3 separate regions of the Homo sapiens genome follow, and all the other regions are linked to region 2. The links are contacts of gene promoters, found by promoter capture Hi-C in human tissues and cell types (Jung and others, 2019). All regions are on one chromosome and are shown on one strand. Each heading gives the region's core, a stretch centred on a gene start or on the middle of the fragment in contact. The rest is flanking DNA. Distances are from core to core; before and after follow the strand shown. Region 1 overlaps SUFU (SUFU negative regulator of hedgehog signaling). Region 2 holds the start of NT5C2 (5'-nucleotidase, cytosolic II). Region 3 holds the start of ACTR1A (actin related protein 1A).

Region 1 (3,224 bases), core at 435-2,934, 570 kb after region 2:
GGCTGGAGTGCAATGGCGCGATCTCGGCTCACTGCAACTTTTGCTTCCCGGGTTCAAGCGATTCTCGTGCCTCAGCCTCCCGAGTAGCTGAGATTACAGGCATGCACCACCAAGCCCGGCTAATTATTGTATTATTAGTAGAGATGGGTTTTCTCCATGTTGGTCAGGCTGGTCTCAAATTCCCGACCTCAGGTGATCCACCTGCCTCGGCCTCCCAAAGTGCTGGGATTACAGACATGAGTCACTGCGCCCGGCCCAGGGTCTGTCTTTTCTAATTTGGCTAGGCCGGAAGTCAGGGCAGGGTGGAAAGGAGAGAACAGTGTTCTCAGCCTGCCTCGGTCTGGGGCTGGAGGCAGACGAGCCTGACCCTTCCTGGCTGCCTCCCTCTTCGCTCCCTCTGCTGGGGGACTGTCTCTGCCAGGACCAAAGTGGCGAGTGAGGCAGGGTGTAGGGACAGCCTCTGGACAGAAAAGGAAAAAAAGAAAAAAGTCATTTTTAGTGACCTACTTTCCTCTGCTCCCCCAGGCTTCTGTCCCTCTTGCCTGGACTGTCCCCCTCCTACCCCCAAGCTCAAAGCAGCAGCCTGGCACAGCGCCATCCCAGTGCGACAAGGCCTCTCCGGAAGCGCTTCTGGGCAGCTGGCTCTGGTCTGACTGAATGGGGAGCTGGGACTCAGGGACCAGTGACTTGTGGGGGTTGATTGGCTGGCATGGACTGGGTGCTTGATGGCTTTGGAATATATAAATGAACAAATTTCTCAAGCTGCATCCCAGAGGACAGAGGAGACCCTGCTCTATTGAGGTGACCCTGGCTCTGGGGAGTTCCTGTCCAACTGGAGACCTGGACTGGACGGTCCCGCCCTGTGCACTCCCCTCAGCTTCCTAAACACCAGAGGCCTGTGTCCTGGCTGTTGCAGCCCAGGGAGCCCTGGAAGCTGGAAGCTCCAGCCCTGGCTGGAACCTAGCTCCCGCCTGGCCTCCCTCTTGGTAGAAAGCCTGGCCCCTGGGAGGCGAAGGAGTTCTCCCCCAAGCACATTTCCTGGCAGACAGGACAAGGGAAGGGTCTGCCTCTGCCACAGGCAGGGCAGGGCCCAGGAGAGCTCTCCAGAGGCCCGGCCAGCCTGCTAGAGTTCACTAACCCATGGGGCACTGGGGCCAGGAAAGCTCCCATCCCACTGGGGTGCTGCGGGCAGGAGCGGGGGAGGGGAAGGGATTTTCCAGGATGAGGTAAGCCCTCGCAAATAAGGATGCCGGGAACAAGGGAGAAAAAACAAAGGGGATTATGGACTCCATTCCTCTACCCCAGAGGAGCAGCTAAAGAAGGCACAGCCACAGCTGGCCTGCCAGCTCCTCCAGCTCTGAGCCAGGGCTGGAAGAGGGAGACTAAGAGGCACAGCTCATGGCTGGAGGACGAAGAAGGGAGAGTGGCTCCTGGGTGGCCCGAGGCGAGAGCAGGAGTCCCTTGCTGCCCACCAGAACTCCCCAGCGGAATGTTCTCTGGCAACAGACATGGGCGTTCTGTTCAGAATCTGCCAGGGAACAGCAGGGGCTGGGGAGAACTCGTACTAGCCTGAAGGCCCTGGCTTCCTCTTCAATGAGGCTCTCAGGAGCTGGCAATTCAGACGATTTGCTGGGTGTCCTTACAAGGGCTGGGGGTAGGGCAGGGGATGGTGAGGGTGCATAGAAACAGAAGAGAAATCTACAGTCTCCTCTCCAGCCTATCCCTGCACCTTGGGGAGGAGCCCACAGATGCAGCCACACAGATACATGCAAGCACACACGCACCACAGGTACACACGCACACATGCATGCACAGACGTGCACACGCACGCACACACATGGTCCCAGAGACGGGACCTGTTGTCAGGAAAAGTCAAACAAGCTTACTTCCTCTGGAGAAGTCAAATCTTCTAAATCCTCCAACATTTTCTCTACAAACTCTTCGGTCAACAGAATCTGTGAAGGCACAAGGCAGGCTTTTATTATTATTTTTAAATGTATGATCTTTTTGCCAACCACCAAGCGTTATACCTCTCTTCTGACCATGGAGGAGAGATGAGCTCACTGTGATCTGTTCAAGGGACACAGGGAAGTGTTTGAGGCCTGTCCCCAGCTGTCATTCCCCCCACACCCTCACCTCCCTGCAATATCAGACTGAGGCATAGAAGGAAAGGGGTCAGGGGACAATGGGGAGGGGAGGGAGGACACTGGGAGAGCTGGGAATGCTGCTCCCAGAAGGGAGATGAACACTGGTGGGGCCGGTAAAAAGGAATCTCAGGAAGAAAAAGGAACAGAAAAGAAAAATTAAAAGGAAAAAAAATTAAATTAAAGCTGCTGCCCAGTCAGGCTCTAGTGTCCCCCTCTGCCCCTCACCGTAGAAGGACAAAAGGAAACTGTTTGGATTTGGAATACAAGCCCTATCTGGAATCTGGAAGTGCCCTGGAAGGTACATCCAAGAATGTCTGAGCTGGAGAATCTGGAGATTGTGGACCAACGTCTCATTTTACAGATGACAAAGGGACTCCCAACTTCCATTCCCATTCACAGTAGCCACATCCTCCCAGGCTGGAAGCTCCCAAGCCCCTGACCTGCTGTGCTCGATCAGCCACTGAGTTCCTCCAGCCTTCTTTGAGGTTCCTCTTCTCTAGGTCACCTCCCAGCATTCCACGTTGCTGTTCTAGTCTGACACCTCATTGCCTCTCGCTTTGATGCTGAGTCTGGCCCCACTATTTGGCTGGCACAAACACCAACTTCATCCGCTAAAGAAGTTTTCACAGCCAATACCAACGTCCAAGGGCTCTCAGGCCCTCTAAAACCGGCCTTCCTCAATCTGCTGGGCCATTCTTCCCCACCCACCCCTCTCGTCAGGCTGCTAGGCAGAGCCAGGCCAAGCTGATCCCAGGTCTGCACCCCACCACGCCCTGGGTGAGGGTGTCTTTCCTCTTCCAACTGTGACCCCTTCCTTCACCCCTCCCCCTCCCTGTCCTTGTCCCCAGGGCCTCCCAGCCTCCCTCCACTGCAGACCCTTCTGTACCCCCAGGCCACAGCTCTACCTGTCTTCTCCCGTACACCTTGAGCACCCAGGTAGGGCACAAAGGAAGAAAGATAATGGGGTGAAGATCCAGGTGAGGGGCTCCTCTGAGGGGAAACCCTCCCTGTGAGGAGGAGAATTGAGAACTTGAAAAAATACCCACCAGGTTTCCCCTGGGAATTGTCAGCTGCCAA
Region 2 (3,178 bases), core at 78-2,577:
GGTTTAAAGATTGTGTTATGCCAGCTTCCAACCCCTATTCCTCTTTTCCATATATCCTGAGAAATTTAGAAGGTGAGGGGCCCAAGGTCTATCCTTAGCTGACCTGAAGCGAAGTTGGCTGAGAAGCACAAGAAGGGGTAGAAGTGCTCTGGCGGAGCACTTATTAAAAAGACGCGGAGGTTTTGGTTGACTGCAAGCCCAATATGAGTCAACAGTATGGGTGCCAAGAACTTTATCGCAGGAGTGCAAAGCGATAGGTCCCAAAAGGAGGAAGCTATAGTCCTGCTTTGCTCTGATGATACCACAAACATTTGGTTCAGTCTTGGGTGATGTATTCTAAAGAAATCACAGTCAAATCTACCATTTGCGTGAGAGGGATAAAGACCCTCAAAACCAGGGCAGAGGAGGAACAATGGAAGGAACGGGAGACACTGATGTGGAATGAGAAGACCTTGGGCAGAGGTGATAGAAGTAAAGTATCTGAAAAGTCAAAGGTCCAGGAGAGATTAGACGTTTGTTCTCTGTGGCTCCAAGGCATCGAATTTCGGCCCTGAGAGTGGAAGTTTAGACACATTTTCTCACTGGTGAGAGCTGCTCGGACCAAGGAATTCAGTCCTCTGGAAATAGCTAGCTGCTTTTGCGGAGTCTTCCTGCTGAGTTGCTGGTGGTGGGGTGAACATTTATTGAGTGCTTACTGTGTGCCAGGATCCTGCTGAGGGCCTCACCTATATTGTGTGATTTCATCCCGTCAACACCCTTTGATGTGGGGACTGTTGTTCCCTATCCTGGTGCTACAAATGTGGGCACCAGGTATAGGAGGTCAGGTACCTCGCCCGAGGTTACAGTTTGTAAGTGGTGGTACTGGGACTGGAACTCGTTCTGACAAACTTCAAAGCTGGTGTTTTTAGCCATCAAGGGGATTCGAGGGTGCCATGGGGGTGTGGACGCATGAGGGGCCTTGAGGTCCATTAGACCAAAACATTCTGTGACTGGGAAAAAGGATGCCCTCTCCTCCCAAGGAAAAGCTTCTTCTGAATGAGACACAGTGGAGAGGTTAGCCCAGGGCCAGGCTGAGGGGCGCAGGCAGAATGCCAAGGGATGGAGACCCTCAGAAGGGCAAAGCCGGTGTTCCATCGTTTGAAGATCTCCAGACCCGCGGGACAGACAGACGCAGCGCGGTCAGGGAGCGTCGGCTTCGCCGAACTCTGCGGCGGAGCTGGGGGACGGAACAGCGCGCCGGTCCCTGGCCGGGCGCGAGCAGAGGGGCGGCGCGGGGCGGTGCCGGGCGGCGGGGGCGGGGAGGGCGCGCGTTGAGGCGGCTGCGGCAGTTGCGCGCTGGGATTGTTGCGGTGCGCTGGAGCCGGTGAGTGCGGCGGGCCCCGTGGGCGGGCGGGGAAGGAGCGGGCGAACGGGGAGCTAGGTGGGGAGGTGCGCGGCCGAACACGCGACCCCAGGGTAGCGGCCGCCGCCTGCCCCCGCCCCCGGCCCCCAGGGACCATGGCCCCAAGGCCCCTCTCCTTAGGCCGAGTCCCCGCCAGCGCGCTCGCGGACGCCGCACGCCTCCCAACTCCCTCGGTGCGGCCCCCGCCCCACGGCAGCCCCTTCCTCCGCGCCGCCGCGACGCCTCCGGCCCACGTCACGCTCGCGCCATTGTTTCCCAGCCGCCGGCTCGCTGGGACCCCGCCTCAGCCTCCCAGCGCGGCCGTTCGCCGCGTTCCGCCCTCTTCCCCCCTTTCCTCACGCTGGTGGTAGCCCTTTCCTCAGTCCTGCTGACGTCCTCCAGCTGATTCCAGGCTGTTCCCGGCCACCCCTGAGGCCGTCTTTTCGCTTCTTGTAAAAGCCTCCCCGCCCCCAGAGCTCCTCGGTCGCCTCCCGAGAAGCCAAGGGGCCTCTGGTGGAGCGCCAGGTTGACAGCGTTTTAGCAGGACCGCGAGAAACGGCCAGCTCGTTTGCCACACGCCCGTGTGCAACACTTCCTGGAAAGGTCACAGCGAATTGCAAGCCGCCACAAAAAACATCCGGACAGCTCCTGGTCAGGGGGCTGAGCCGTTCAGTGGCGGCCTATTCTTCTCCTTTTTTCGGGGCTCCTGAAATCGGAGAGGGCGAGATGCCGATCTGAGGCCTGAACCCTTAGTTTAAGAAAAACGTTTTGGGGGTTTGACTCCGGCAGGCCACAGCTTCTAAAAGCAGCAGGTAGAGGCTGCTGTCCGAATCGACGTTTTCCTGGGCTTTCACCTTTAGGGCCTTGATGTTTGAGGGGGGTCGTGCTCTGAAGTACAGCGCCCCGAAATGACTAGTCACCATTACAGGGGGGTGTGTGCGCGCCCGTCCAGGGGCCGATGAGTTCTTCAGGATTGAGCTGTACTTGGTTCCCAGTGTCTGTAGACTATTCATTTCGCCTCTTCAAGCAACGAATGCAAACTACTGACCATAATGTGAAAGGGAGAATATTGAAACTGTGTCATTTACCATGAAAACTTAGTGTTATTGCGTAGAGAAGGCTTTAGGTTTCAAAAATATTTACCACATGGCTTTTCAACAACGGTTAGAATTTATCCAGATGAAGACATCCAGGCCTGAAAGGGTGAAGTTCGAAAAGAGAAAAAAAATAGGTGTGAGCTGAGAGTGGAAAAAAAAAAAAGAACAAAAAAGGTTAAGTTCAAGAAAACATAGCTGGTTAGTAATTAAAATAAAAACTCCACATGCAGGGTTGATACTAGCATACACAGACTTATTTCTGAAGTGCATTTCCATTGCAGTGTAAACCACTACATTTCAACAGTATAGGTAGCTGCATTACTCTCATTGACCCAGAATTAAGGTTTTAGGATTTAGTAACCAACAAATCTGTAAAATAAGGTGGAGGGGCGCGGGGTGGAGTGGGGGGGGTTCTGAAGGAGATGTTATGCAAGATTCCTTTCAGTTCAAAGGTTTGATGCCATTGTATGAAAATTTACCATCAGCTACAAGTTTTCAGAAGTTTGTAATTGTAAGAAGATTTATATAGATAGTATTCCCTTATAGTACCTGCCACCCTTAACCAGAAGACATCACATCTTCCTAAAGAAAGCCAGATTACAATAGAATGTTAGGCACAGAGGTGCTCATTAATCTTTCTCTAGGCTATTTCTCCTGTTTTATGGGGAAAGAGGAGTACATAAAACACAGGTTTTTTTTT
Region 3 (2,866 bases), core at 1-2,500, 690 kb after region 2:
GCCTCGGGGCGGCGGGGCGCTAAGGGGGGCGGGGCGCCGGCGCACCCTATCCAAGCACCCATTGGCTAATGTCTGTGCCAGTCACAGGCAGGGAAGGTGTGACTTGACAATAGGCCCCGCCTCCCCTCCCTGTGTTGGGAGTGTCCCAAGGCTCTTGGTCTCCCCCTAGTGTTAGGAGGAACCCAAGTTTAGAGATGCTGAGCACCCTCTGAGGTGCTAAGGTCCCACGAAAGCAGCGAGAAGTGCGCCAACAAAGGATTTGTTACTGTTTTGCTGACGCGCTGCTAACTAGGATTTAAACATAAATCTGACAATGGATTGATTCATTCATCCATGGGGCGTTAGTATTAATAGATGATAATAAATCTAATGTTTTCTAGGGCTATTGACAAAAAGGTCCCTGAAATTTCAAGGGGGCTGGGGGAGAACATAATCCAGAGAAAAAAATGCACTGGGCTCATTTGAAAGCAGTGACACATAACCTCTCTTCACCTCCATTTTCTCAACCATCAGTGTCAATTCTAGCTCGTTATGAAAATTAAAGAGATACTCGAGCAGTTTCTGAAACCCTTAGATGATGTTTTAATGACCAAAAGATTACCTATACCAGTAGTTCCAATTGCCAATCTTCGGATCAATGTTAGCCTGTTATGCAGAAAAAAAGAAAATGCAAAAGGCAACGACAATGTACAGGTTTTTAAACTTAAAGCTAATTTTATGCAATTTAAATTGTTTTCCTTTGTTGTAGGAATATGTCCTCTCGCGTACGTGTGTTAACATTTCCTTTTTGTTAGAGTGTGAGGTGCTAGGAGATGTTTATTAAAGTCTTACAGACCCAAATAAAAACATGAGAACCTTATATTGTCTAAGGGAACGTCGGGGGGAGTGGCAGGGCTGATCTGCAAAATCCAAACATCCATGAATTACGACCAATCCAAACCGAACTACAGACAAGTACTCGAGAAGACTACATACCTCAGCATGCACTGCGAACTCCTTCAAAGGGACTACAGATCCAGGCATGCAACATGACCATCAACCTGTGTCTCTGGCTGTTTAATCTAGGGAGACCACAAATCCCAGGGTACTGCGCATTGGAAATGCGACTCCCAATCTTAAACTAGGCGGGCAACAAAGCAAGCTAGATCGCTAACCCAGGCGCAAAGCTTGCTGGGGATTGTAGTTCTTCAGAGGCGAGGTCGGGCCGCTCCCTCGCCGCCCTGAACCGGCGGCTAGACTGCGCATGCGTGTCAGTGGCGCTAGCGGCGGACCCGGCTGGGCAGTTCCTTCCCCAGAAGGAGAGATTCCTCTGCCATGGAGTCCTACGATGTGATCGCCAACCAGCCTGTCGTGATCGACAACGTGAGTTGCGTCTTTCCTATCTATAAGGGGACTTGGGCTCTCCTCCTCGAAAGGATCGCTTCCCGGGGTTCAGCCTGAGCCGCCGGCTCTTTGTCACTGGCCCGGCCTGTCAGGCGCGTTCAGCCACCGCCGCCTCCTTCCTCCCCTTATCACATAGTCCGCAGGCAAGGCGGCCAGCCAGCAAAAGTGGGATGGAGAACTCTGGAGTGGATAAAGGAAAGAGTTATAGTCCAAGCCAGTCCTTGGGCCCTTGGCTCTAGGGGCCTTAACCGCTGTGTGAGATTCCCGTCGCCCGCCCTCTCCCCCATTTCCGATCGCTCTATTGGTTGCTCTGGCTGTCCATCTTAGCCAATGATACCGCCTCTTAGCCTTGCCGGATGAGGCTAGGCCTCTGCGGTGATTGGCTCACGCCCCTGCCATTCTTCCTTGCCGCCATATTGTTTTCCCTCTTGAAGGGGCGGGGCAGTGCTCCAGGGCTGTGGGGATTGGCTTCCGGGACTCTGGGTGGTGGGGCCTAGAGGCGAGTGCCCGCCCGCGGGTGGAGAACGGCTAAGTTTTCCTTCGGTCTCAGCCGGCGCTGCGGCTTGGTGGTGTGGATCTGGGTGGGGCCCGAGAATCTGGTGCCAGAAACCGCTGTAGGATGTCAGCTATTACTGTGATTATAAATTACAAAGTTGGTAAAGGTCGAGAAGAAAGGAGAGTGACAAAGGAAGCAGAGAGGTTGTCCTCCTCTTTGGAACGCCTAGTTCTTACGGGGAAAAAATTACCAAACTTAATATTTGCCTGGCGCTCTAGCGCTTCCAGGGCGTTTTCACATACATTCGAGTTGGATCCTCACAAAAACTGGACGCATAGTTTAAAAGGAACTTTGATCTTCGTGTTACCGATGAGAAAACTGAAGCGCGAAGACGTAACGTGAGCCCAAGGTCACATAGCAGAGGTGCCCTAAATCCAGTACTTTATCCGTCATCCCTTTTGCCAGCACCACCATGCAGAAGCATCAATATTGACCAATAGAAAGAATCTAAATACTGCTCTTATTTTGGGGGGAAAGGAGAAAATTGTAAAACGACTGCATTTCTGCCTTCGATTCAAAGCTTTGGTCCCACAGAGATTGATCCCTGTCTGTGTCCCTTGTAGGTCCCTCCATTGAGGCAAAACTACCAGTTCCCTCTGTTGTAAGCTGACTCTGTCAGATTCCCTTTGTTGATTCAGCTCTTGGGACCTTAGGCATATTACAATGTTCTCGTTTAAGCTTCAGCTCTGTTAGGTAGATAGGAATTACTATCCCCAGTGTATGCAGGGATGTTAAATAACAGATTTCAAACCATCCAGTTTAGGAATTGAGGAGCCAGTCATCAGACTAAGATCCAGTTCCAAGTTGCTTGCTTTTTCCAATATATTTTTGTTGTTGTTTTCATTAAATTTTCCTTCTCTCCATGGGTATTTTGTTTTTATTATTCCCCCTTAGAAAGGGGCAGGATTGAGCTCAATGAGACAGCTC

Evidence for each region. The method cuts DNA at HindIII sites, captures the fragments that hold promoters and counts their contacts. A contact is called where the count stands out against the background at its distance.
Region 1: a fragment that was not itself captured here is called in contact with the fragment with the promoter of NT5C2 in region 2 in 1 of the 25 tissues and cell types used here (aorta).
Region 3: the fragment with the promoter of ACTR1A here is called in contact with the fragment with the promoter of NT5C2 in region 2 in 1 of the 25 tissues and cell types used here (hippocampus).

What each region holds. Positions count from the first base shown.
Region 1 is chr10:102,625,906-102,629,129 of GRCh38, reverse strand. It overlaps SUFU (SUFU negative regulator of hedgehog signaling), which reads right to left. Exons shown (of 12, transcript NM_016169.4): 11 at 1,887-1,955. Among named protein-coding and RNA genes, the nearest start is that of TRIM8-DT, 16 kb to the left of the region's middle. RefSeq lists an enhancer at 129-671. The HindIII fragment of the contact is 4,548 bases long and covers 1-3,224 here.
Region 2 is chr10:103,191,421-103,194,598 of GRCh38, reverse strand. It overlaps NT5C2 (5'-nucleotidase, cytosolic II), which reads left to right and starts at 1,327. Exons shown (of 19, transcript NM_001351169.2): 1 at 1,327-1,363. RefSeq lists a silencer at 1,233-1,512 and enhancers at 1,211-1,897, 1,898-2,586. The HindIII fragment of the contact is 10,406 bases long and covers 1-3,178 here.
Region 3 is chr10:102,501,096-102,503,961 of GRCh38, reverse strand. ACTR1A (actin related protein 1A) reads left to right here and starts at 1,250. Exons shown (of 11, transcript NM_005736.4): 1 at 1,250-1,362. The coding sequence starts at 1,315. It also overlaps a transcript of SUFU not described here. RefSeq lists silencers at 1-174, 852-921 and enhancers at 1,272-1,371, 2,766-2,866. The HindIII fragment of the contact is 1,714 bases long and covers 100-1,813 here.